3 separate regions of the Homo sapiens genome follow, and regions 1 and 2 are each linked to region 3. The links are contacts of gene promoters, found by promoter capture Hi-C in blood cells and fetal thymus (Javierre and others, 2016). All regions are on one chromosome and are shown on one strand. Each heading gives the region's core, a stretch centred on a gene start or on the middle of the fragment in contact. The rest is flanking DNA. Distances are from core to core; before and after follow the strand shown.

What was found. The method cuts DNA at HindIII sites, captures the fragments that hold promoters and counts their contacts. A CHiCAGO score of 5 or more calls a contact.
Region 1: the fragment with the promoter of FURIN here is called in contact with the fragment with the promoter of ZNF774 in region 3 in 8 of 17 cell types (activated CD4 T cells, erythroblasts, total B cells and 5 more); the score reaches 12.1 in activated CD4 T cells.
Region 2: a fragment that was not itself captured here is called in contact with the fragment with the promoter of ZNF774 in region 3 in 1 of 17 cell types (naive CD8 T cells); the score reaches 5.8 in naive CD8 T cells.

What each region holds. Positions count from the first base shown.
Region 1 is chr15:90,866,268-90,869,848 of GRCh38, reverse strand. It overlaps FURIN (furin, paired basic amino acid cleaving enzyme), which reads right to left and starts at 1,261. Exons shown (of 16, transcript NM_002569.4): 1 at 1,138-1,261. RefSeq lists enhancers at 1-90, 28-137, 1-170, 238-287, 1-729. The HindIII fragment of the contact is 27,514 bases long and covers 1-3,581 here.
Region 2 is chr15:90,989,731-90,993,098 of GRCh38, reverse strand. All of the region lies in intron 1 of PRC1 (protein regulator of cytokinesis 1), which reads left to right. Among named protein-coding and RNA genes, the nearest start is that of PRC1, 3.1 kb to the left of the region's middle. The HindIII fragment of the contact is 7,498 bases long and covers 1-3,368 here.
Region 3 is chr15:90,350,290-90,353,614 of GRCh38, reverse strand. ZNF774 (zinc finger protein 774) reads right to left here and starts at 1,331. Exons shown (of 4, transcript NM_001004309.3): 1 at 1,204-1,331. The HindIII fragment of the contact is 4,226 bases long and covers 1-3,325 here.

The DNA.
Region 1 (3,581 bases), core at 12-2,511, 520 kb before region 3:
GCCCCACCTACCCACTTGTCCTCAGGCCTAGAAGAAAGGTCAGCCCAGAAAAATAGCAATACTTGCTGCTTCAGGTGCCCCACCCATCCTGGAGACTGGCCCCAGGGGAGCCCGCAGTGGGTCTTTGGAGGGGGAGGGGCTAGCCTAGGCTCAGATGACTGCCACCCAGGCAGAGGCGGTGGGAAGTGGAGCTTCCCAGTTTCTTCCAGCCAGCTTGCCTCTTCAATCTGCATAAGGCAAAATTCTTTAAAGTGGGTTCTCAGAGGTGCCTCCCTGAGAGGGAGGAATGAGGACAGGATTGGGCAGTTGAGCACCTCTCTCTGCTTCACCCAGAGTGTCTCACATTTTAGGGTTTCACATGAGATTGTATTTTACAACAATTCTGCTGCTAAAAAGAATTTGAAAGCCACTCTCTGTGAGACTTCTCTGGAAAAAAATCCCATTTGACCACAACTGGTGACTTCTGCCTTTATCTCATTGCAACAAGTCCTGTGGGCAGGTATTGTTCTCTTTATCACTCTCAACTGGCCCTGGAGCCCAGGTCTCCTGACCTGGGGCCCTAGGGGCCCAAGGTCCTCTGGATCCCACCTTACCAGTTTTACACAGCAGTTAGCAGGACTTGGGCATGTGACAGAAGTCTGGAGATGAGTGAGAGGAGCAGGGCCTGATGGGTAAGTGGGGGCTGTAAAGGGGCTCCATTTTCCCAGCAGGGCTCTGGGAGGAAGAGTCCAGCTAGGCCTCTCTTTATCCTTGATTTGGGGCTAATCCAGAGAGGCTCCTGAGAATCACATAGTCCTAAATCCACCCAGTCATCCTGACTCCAAGCACTCCTGTTGTCTCCTTGGGGTGCTCTGGGAGTCTTCTCTGAAATCTCTGGTCCACCTCAGGCACAGCAAATAAAGCCTTCGGCAGCAGCACCCACACCTAGTTGTAAGCAGAATGTCTACACAACATTCAGACGTGCATAGAAGGGTGCACAACAAAATTCCATTGGTGTTCTCTCCGAATGAAAGGGTCACATTTGCGATCTTTGTTTTCTTCTTTTTGCCTACCTGCATTTTTCAGGAATGTCTACAAGAACTCCTAAAATAATTAAACCTTTAAGTCAATGCAAAATCGAATAAAGCATGTCCATACTTCACCATCCAGCTCCAGAGCACCTGGGATTCATCCTGGCCGCTGCTGCTTCCCCGCCACTCACTGCAGCTGCAACAGTCAGGCTCCTATCCCTTCACAGGGCGGGGCCCTTCCAGTTCTGGCTAAACCACTTTGGGAAAACCTTCTTTATATGACAGGCAAACAGGGTGTCTGTGGGTGGGGGGAGGAGCTAAAAGTGATGTGGTGGTGACATATCTGGTCGCACTGGAACTGGATCCTAACATGGCCAGCCAGCCCTTCTCATTTTCCTCATTTATTGGGGTGGGTCTGCACTTACCTTCTGCCTGGCTTTGCTGCATCCCAGCCACTGGCTGACTTAATGACTTCCTTCCGCCAGCTCCAGCTCCTTGTGTTCTGCCTTGCCTTCCATGGCCAGCCAGTGCTGCCACAATTATGTACCTAATAAATGCTTTGGGTGCAGTCTCGCCTGGCAGACATTCATTGAGCAGCTGCTGAACGCTGGGCTCTGGTGCCCCATAGCTGGGTCCCTTAGAGCTTGTCCATAGGAAGCCAGAGACCACCTCTCTAGTAGGGTTGCATGGAGGTACCTGGGACACACCAGGGTCTTCCTCAGTCTGCGACCTCCCTGGCCTTCCAGCTTCAACAAGCCTGCTGCCCATCCTTCTCTCTCTCGATTCAGAAATGTGAATCACTCAATCCTCATAGTTTTTTTTGTTTGTTTGTTTTATGGGTTTGTTTTTTTTTTTTCTAGACAAGAGTCTCGCTCTGTTGCCCAGGCTGGAATGCAATGGCCTGATCACAGCTCACTGCAACCTCTGCCTTCTGGGTTCAGGCGATTCTCATGCTTCAGCCTCCCAAGTAGCTGGGATTACAGGCTTACGCCACTCGTATTTTTTTTTTTTTTTTTTGTATTTTTAGTAGAGATGGGGTTTTGCCATGTTGGCCAGGCTGGTCTCGCACTCCTGACCTTAAGTGATACACCCACCTCGGCCTCCCTAAGTGCTGGGATTATTAGGCGTGAGCCACCACGCCCGGTCCCCTTGTTGAGTTTTCAATCAGTTTGTCATCCTGAACAGGGTTTCTCAACCTTGGCATTATCAACATCTTGGGTCGGATAATTCTCTGTAGGGGACACTGCACTCTACATTGCAGGATGTTCAGTCGCATCCCTAGTCACTAAACATTAGCTGCTAGTAGCATTCCCGCTCCCATGATGACAACCAAAAAGATCTCCAGGTATTGCCAAATGTCCCTTGGGAGACAAAAATCTCTCCCAGCAAAGAACCACTGTCGCAGAATGAGGAGTGGGAACGTCACAGGATGGTGGTTAGTGTGCCAGGGTTCGAGGCAGCAAGAGTTGTCTGCTGGGAACTAAGCTCTGAGACAGCTAGCAGTGAGGGAGAAAACTCCCAAACTTGAAACTGCCCAGTATGCCAGCACAACAATGGGCCGTTTAGTGATCAGGGCAAACAATCATGCATCCTCATGACATCTGAGATCACTTTCCATCGTGTTGGTGATAATGCTGAATCAAGGAAAGGATCAATCATGTTGATCATACTCCATTTTCTAAGGTGGGGAGGTGTGTGAGCCCTTGTAGCATTAAAGACGTATTTGGAAAACAGATCAGTGCTTGCTTGGGGAAGGGGGCAGGGAGGGGCGGGAGGAAACTTTTGGGAATGATGGACATGTTCATTATCTTGATTGTGGTGATGGTTTCATGGGTGTGTCCATATATCAAAACATATCAAGTTGTACACTTTAAATCCATGCCGTTTATAGTGTGTCAGTTATACCTCAGCAAAGCTGTTTTGAAGATGTGTTGTTTAAAGTTTTAGTGCTTGAAGGGCATTATTTTGAAAATTCACTACTGTGGAGTAGTCCATTTCTTTGCTGAATAAATAAGGGGTCACTGTAGTACTTAAAAAGAAAACAGGAAGAAAAAACAAACAGAAGAAGAAGAAGAAAAGCGATCATGGGCTGTAAGGTCGTCCTAGGCAGGGAAGGAAAGGAATGGCGTGAAGAGTTGGCTCAGTCGCCCCTGAGTGTGGCCCGGAGAGCCTGTCCTCTGGCCTACGGCAGGCCCCAGAGAGTCTTTCCGTTGACTGATGCCATCAAATCAACATGTCTGGAACGGTATTATCAGGGACTTGGGAAAAATAGAATGACAAATGTGCTGGCTGCCAGGAAAGGAACAGATGAGTCTGGAAATTATAGGCTCCTCCACAAACTTTAATCCCTAAAACAAACATTGCTGGGGAAAAAGTCAGTTAATACCTGGAGGAGTGTGAGTGCTGTCCTTCAATGGGGCACGGCACACCTGGGAGCAGAGAGCATTTACAGAAGCCAGACACCGTGTGCCAACCTGTGTCAACAGGCTCATGCTCAAGGGGCTGCACGTGGCAGCAGGGAGCACTGCGAGCGGCAGTGAGGGGCCCTCTCTGACGGTGCAGATGCTTTTT
Region 2 (3,368 bases), core at 622-3,121, 640 kb before region 3:
TTTTTTTTTTTTTTTTTTTTTTTTTTTTGAGACGGGGTCTCACTCTGTCGCCCAGGCTGGAGTGTAGTGGCGAGATTGCTCACTGCAGCTTTGACCTCTGAGGCTCAAACGAAACTCTGGCCAGAATTAATTATGGTTATCGATCCCCGAAACAGGTTGAACTGGAGATCAACAAAGCTCCTTCTCTGGAATGCTAAGAAAAAATAGGGCAGTGGATCAGTGAAGGCTGCCTGAAGGTAGAAAATAATTTAAGGACCACTGTGAGATACCTTCCAGTCCAGTGATTTATGTTCAAGACTGGAAAAACTGACTCATTTTACAACCTTTTTGTCCTTGAGTGGTAGTCTTTGTATGCACTCTTGATTTTTTTCAGTGAATCTAAAAAAAAAACTCAGACTTGCTGCTTTTAGGGGATTATCTGAAACAATTTAGCCAGGGAGTATTTAAGTGTATCATGATAATTGTTCATAATGATTGCTCTGAAGCATCTTAAGATCATACAACTTTTTTGAAATGTCACGTTATTCATTCAAAAAGACTTCTTGGGCCTGGCACAGTGGCTCACACCTGTAATCCCAGCACTTTGGGAGGCCAAGGTGGGAGGATGACTTGAGCCCAGGAGTTCAAGACCAGCCTGGGCAACATAGCAAGACCCTGTCTCTATTTAAAAAATAATAATTTATACTAAAAAAGAAAAGAAAAATACTTCTTGAATGTTTGTTATATACAAGGAACCATTGCAAGTGTTGGGGATATAGCAGTGAGCAAAAGTGACATCCCTGCCCTCACAGAGTTTATATTCTAATAGCAAAAGAGGAGTGTAATAAATAAGTTAGTCTTAAATGGTGGTAAGTGCTATGTAGAGAAATCAAGAGGTTAAGAAGTACTGAAGGTGTAGGAAGGGGGGTTGTGGTTTTAAAGAGATGGGTCAGGAAAGGCCTCCCTGAGAAGGTGATCTCTGAGCAAAGACCTAAGAAGGAAAAGGGTGAAGCCATGCAGCATGGGGGAAAAGAGATCTAGGTAGAGGAATCAGCAAATCCAAGTGCCCTAAGGGGAGATAGCGCCTGGTATGTTCCAGAAAGAGCAAGGAGGTCGCTGTGACAGGAATAGAATGAGCACTGAGGTCAAAAGAAATGGCTTTCAGATGGAATGGGGCTCCATAGGTCTTTGGAAAGTCAGAGGCTTTTCCTTAGAGTGAGATGGCAAGTCGTTGGAGGGTTCTGAGTAGAAGATTAGGACTTGGGGCTCCTGTGTTGACAATGGACTTAAGGAGGCCAGCTTCGAAGCCGGGAGACCAGTTAAGAGGCCCCTGCCATACAGCAAGAAGTTGGTGGTGGTGACCTGGACCAGGGTGGGGGTGGTAGTGGTAGCAGCAGAGGTCAGGAGGAGTGAGATTCTGCCTGTCTTGTGTAGATAATGCTAATGGCGGGCATATAAGAAAGAAGTGTCAAGGATGATACAAGATTTAAGTTTAAAAAAAAAATTAAGTTCAGTACAATTTGAATGTTAGGAAGAGTGAGAAATGTTAGTTTTTAATTTGAAAATGATCCTCTTACAGGAAGTGTCTCTAACTAGAATAATAATAATGGGTGTTTGGTAATTCCAAACACCCATTTCCAACAGGCCAAATAAAATACGTTATATATTAGTAAAATTTTTATTTCTTTTTTTTTTTGGAGACAGTCTTGCTCTGTTGCCCAGGCTGGAGTGCAATGGCATGATCTCAGCTCACTGCAACCTCCGCCTCCTGGGTTCACCGGGTTCAAGTGATTCTCCTGCCTCAGCCTCCTGAGTATCTGGGATTACAGGCACCCACTACCACGCCCAGCTAATTTTTGTATTTCTAGTAGAGATGGGGTTTCACCATGTTGGCCAGGCTGGTCTCGAGCTCCTGATCTCAGGTGATCCGCCCGCCTTGGCCTCCCAAAGTGCTGGGATTGCACACGAGCCACCGCGCCCGGCCATAGTAAAAATCTGTAAGTTTTTCAATTAAGTCACAAATCAAAAACATTTCAGATTATGGGCCGGGCACAGTGGCTCACGCCTGTAATCCCAGCACTTTGGGAGGCCGAGGCGGTCGGATCACGAGGTCAGGAGTTTGAGACCAGCCTGACCAACATGGTGAAACCCCGTCTCTACTAAAAATACAAAAATTAGCCGGGCGTGGTGCCGTGTGCCTGTAGTCCCAGCTACTCAGGAGGCTGAGGCAGGAGAATCGCTTGATCCCAGAAGGCAGAGGTTGCAGTGAGCTGAGATCACACCATTGCACTCCGGCCTGGGTGCCAGACTGAGACTCTGTCTCAAAAAAAGAAAAAAAAAAGAAACCAAAAATGTTTTAGATTATGTGCCAAGATGTTTTTAATAACAGCTTTGAGGTATAATCCACATACCATACAATGTACTTAAATTGTATATTATAATTCAGTGATTTTTAGAATATTCAGAGTTGTGCAATCATCACTGCAATCAATTTTAGAACATTTTTATCACCCCTTTAAAATCCCATTAGCAGTCAATCCCCTTTCACCCCATGGTCCAAATTCTCCCCAGCCGCAACTACAAATCTACTTTTCGGCTAGGCAAGGTGGCGCACACCTATAATTCCAGCACTTTGGGAGCCCAAGGTGGGAGGACTACTTGAGCCCAGGAGTTCAAGAACAGCTTGGGCAACATAGAGAGACTCTACCTCTTAAAAAAAAAAAAAAAATTATTTATTTATTTATTTATTTATTTTATTTTTTATTTTATTTTATTTTATTTTTTGAGATGGAGTCTCACTCTGTCACCCAGGCTGGAGTGCAGTGACGTGATCTCAGGTCACTGCAACCTCCACCTCCCGGATTCAAGCAATTCTCCTGCCTCAGCCTCCCGAGTAGCTGAGATTACAGGTGCCCACCACCACACCCAGCTAATTTTTGTATTTTTAGTAGAGACGGGGTTTCACCATATTGGCCAGGCTGGTCTCAAACTCCTGACCTCGTGATCCGCCGGTCTTGGCACCCAAAGTGCTGGGATTACAGGAGTGATCCACCGCACCCGGCCTAAAAAAAAATTTTATTGTTTAAGTTAGCTGGGTGTGGTGGCTCACATCTGTAGTCCCAGCTACTCCGGAGGCTCAGGTGGGAGGATCACCTGAGCCTAGGAAGTTGGGGCTGCAGTGAGCCATGATCATGTTACTGCACTCCAGCCTAGGTGAAAGAGGGAGACCCTGTCTCAAAAAACCATACAAACCCCAAATCTACTTTTTACCTATTCTGGATATTTCATAAAAACGGAACCGTAGCTCTGGTCTTTTGTGACTTGCTTCTTTGACTTAACATAATGTTTTCAAGGTTTATTGCCAAATAATATTCCATTGTATGCCTATA
Region 3 (3,325 bases), core at 82-2,581:
TCCCTTAAAAAAAAAAAAAATGCAGCCAGCATGACCACCCACTACAAAGAATATTGCATTTCAAGGGAGGAAGGACCAGACTGTGGTGAAGAAGTTTTACTCTTTCACATCTTTTGTCCCACTACAAATCACCTATTTACTACTGGAACACACACACACACACACACACACACACACACACACACACACTTTTGGGGGAAATATTTTTGTATTTACAGACATTATTATTGGTCATTTATAAAGTATTGAGTTTTTAAGGATCTAAAAACCATCTCTCTGGTTTAAAACTTTAACAAACAACAATAATGTAATTAGAAAGTAAAAATTGTAATAAGAGTTTTCAGTATTGGCCAGGTGCTGTGGCTCATGACTGTAATCCCAGCACTTTGGGAAGACGAGACGGGCGGATCACCTGGGGTCAGGAGTTCGAGATCAGCCTGGCCAACATGGTGAAACCCTGTCTCTACTAAGAATACAAAATTAGCCGGGTGTGGTGGCACACGCCTGTAATCCCAACTACTTGGGAGGCTGAGGCAGGAGAATCGCCTGAACCCGGGAGGTGGAGACTGCAGTGAAAGGAGATAGCGCCATTGCATTCCAGCCTGGGCAACAAGAGCGAAATTCCGTCTAAAAAAAAAAAAGAGTTTTGAGTATAATTTTTATTTCTACATTCATTACAAAACACAGCTGCAGGGCCCACTTGCTGGAGACAGCGCCACTGAGGAGGGGAGACGTCTTAGCCACGGTTATAGAAACCCTGTTTCCCAGCCCGTCCCTTTCCCCATGCACAGGTGACCTCAAAGGCCCCACAGCGCTGAGGGGCTGTGACTAAGTGCCACTGTGAGAAGCTCCAGTGCGTTCACCGGGTTTATTAATAGGAACATGACTGCACGCGTGGGGCCGAACCCCGTTCTTCTTCTCGGTGCTCGCGCCCTAACCGGGGTGCGGCGGTCAGAGGGTCACAGATCAGCTGAAACCCTGGGACCACCATCGAGAAGCAAGAAAACTGATTAAGAGAATGACTTATCCCGCCGACGGTATAGAGACCACAGCTACCTCTCCCACAGCCCAGCAAGACCCGGGGGCTCCCAAAGGCCAGCGCGGGAACCCCGCTGAGAAAACGTCTGGGTGGCGGGCAAGCCCCCTCCACGCCCCTCAGCAGCGCGCCGCTGCCGCCGCGGTCTCCCTCCTTGAATCACTCACCGCCCCAGGGCCCAGCCGGGGATGGAGCAGGAAGTGAGTCCTCCACCGCCGAGCCGCACCCGGCCCGCAACCCCGAGGCTGTGCCTCCCAGAACCCGACCGGGATTCGTGACAGGGCTGTGGGGACACAGGTGGGACTCCGGCTTCGACAGCCAGCGGCCGGAAAGTACCGCCCCCATCCTCTTGCTATTGGCTTTTCAGTTTCCATGGCTAGAATTTTTCTCTGTCCATAGGCTGATAGAGCTGTCAATTATCGCCTAGCCTTCTGGGAAACGTAGTCCCGAGCAAGACCTCAAAGGACTCGGAGCCGTGGATGTCCAGTTCCAAGCGTTGGAAAGTGCTAAACCCAATTCCCCAGCTACCGGTCCCCCGGAACCGCCTGTTTGGAGCCGAGGGATCTAAATGCTGTATCCTCACTGTGGCATCTGCAGATGTGAATCTCCTGGCCTCACCCACCTACCGCGGAGCAGCCTGGTGCCCACCATGAGGTCTCCCGCGCTCTGGCACTTCGCCCCTCCCCAGCGCAGAGCAGCTCAGCCCTCGGGCCTTTGCGGCCTCTCTTCTGCCCAGTCTTCCACCTCATCCCCGGCGGCCGGAGCCTGCAGGGTGTTTGCGGAGGCCAGGTCCCAGACCAACTCAAACTGGACATTGGAAAGGCCCAGCAGAAGCCCTTAGTAGAAAACAGACATTCCGCATCCTTCCCTTGGCATCAAACTCCCAGGCACATCCCCTTTCCGTCTGGTTGATAGCCAGAGGAGGCGGGCGAGGGCATCAAGTATTCTGGGAAATGTGATATCGGGCTTCAAACTGGGGAGGCTCCTGGGTCTCATGTGAGAGCCAGTGATCACTTTGGGTCGGCCCCTAGCTAAAAAACAACAAAGTCTTTCCTTAAAGTGAAGAAAATGTGCCTGTCTACTCCGTTTGTTGATTCAGTGCAATTTAGAAAAATAAAAGAACATTTTGTGATGTATTATAAAACGCTTAGAATTACCAGCCATAGAGTTTTTTTTTTTTTTTTTTTTTAGACGGAGTCTCGCTCTGTCGCCCAGGCTAGAGTGCAGTGGCACGATCTCGGCTCACTGCGAGTTCTGCCTCCCAGGTTCACACCATTCTCCTGCCTTAGCCTCCCGAGTAGCTGGGACTACAGGCGCCCGCCACCACACCCGGCTAATTTTTTGTATTTTTAGTAGAGACGGGGTTTCACCATGTTAGCCAGGATGATCTCCATCTCCTGACCTCGTGATCCGCCCGCCTCGGCTTCCTAAAGTGCTGGGATTACAGGCGTGAGCCACCGTGCCCGGCCCGAGTTAATGTTGAAGATCCCTTTGATGCTAATTCCACCATTCCTTCAACAAAAATAAGGTGCATTTTCCAGTGGATATTTATTGGGAACATTCTGTTCTCAAGATCGTTCTGGGGGCAGGGCGTGGTGGCTCACGCCTGTAATCCCAGCACTTTGGGAGGCCGAGGCGGGAGGATCACGAGGTCAGGAGATCGAGACCATCCTGGCTAACATGGTGAAACCCCGTCTCTACTAAATATAGAAAAAATTAGCCGGGCGTGGTGGCGGGCGCCTGTAGTCCCAGCTACTCGGGAGGCTGAGGCAGGAGAATGATGTGAACCCGGGAGGTGGAGCTTGCAGTGAGCCGAGATCGCGCCACTGGACTCCATCCTGAGCGACAGAGCAAGACTCCGTCTCAAAAAAGAAAAAAAGAAAGAAAAAAAAAAAAGATCGTTCTGGGAACTGTGATTACTCGGGAATCATACATAACCATTACCTTCATGAAGTTCACAGGCCAAAAGGGGAAATAAACCATAAAAGGTATCAAAATCCTAAGTAATTTTTTTTTCCATATAGCCAGTGGCATCTTAGTTATTTTGCTACACAATTATAGTCATCTGCAAGGTAACTACATTGCATTTTCGGAAACTCTGTCGACTATGAACAAATGTCTGGTTAGCAGAGGTAGTTAGACGTAGTTAGATTTAGTTAGACGAAATTGAGGAAAATGGAAATCTCAGAGGAGGTCAGTAACAAAGTAACACCCAGGAAACCTAGGGATTGCCAGTCCTCCTGTAACTGGAACAGAGTTCAGGACCTGGAGAACCGAAGGCATCTTCAG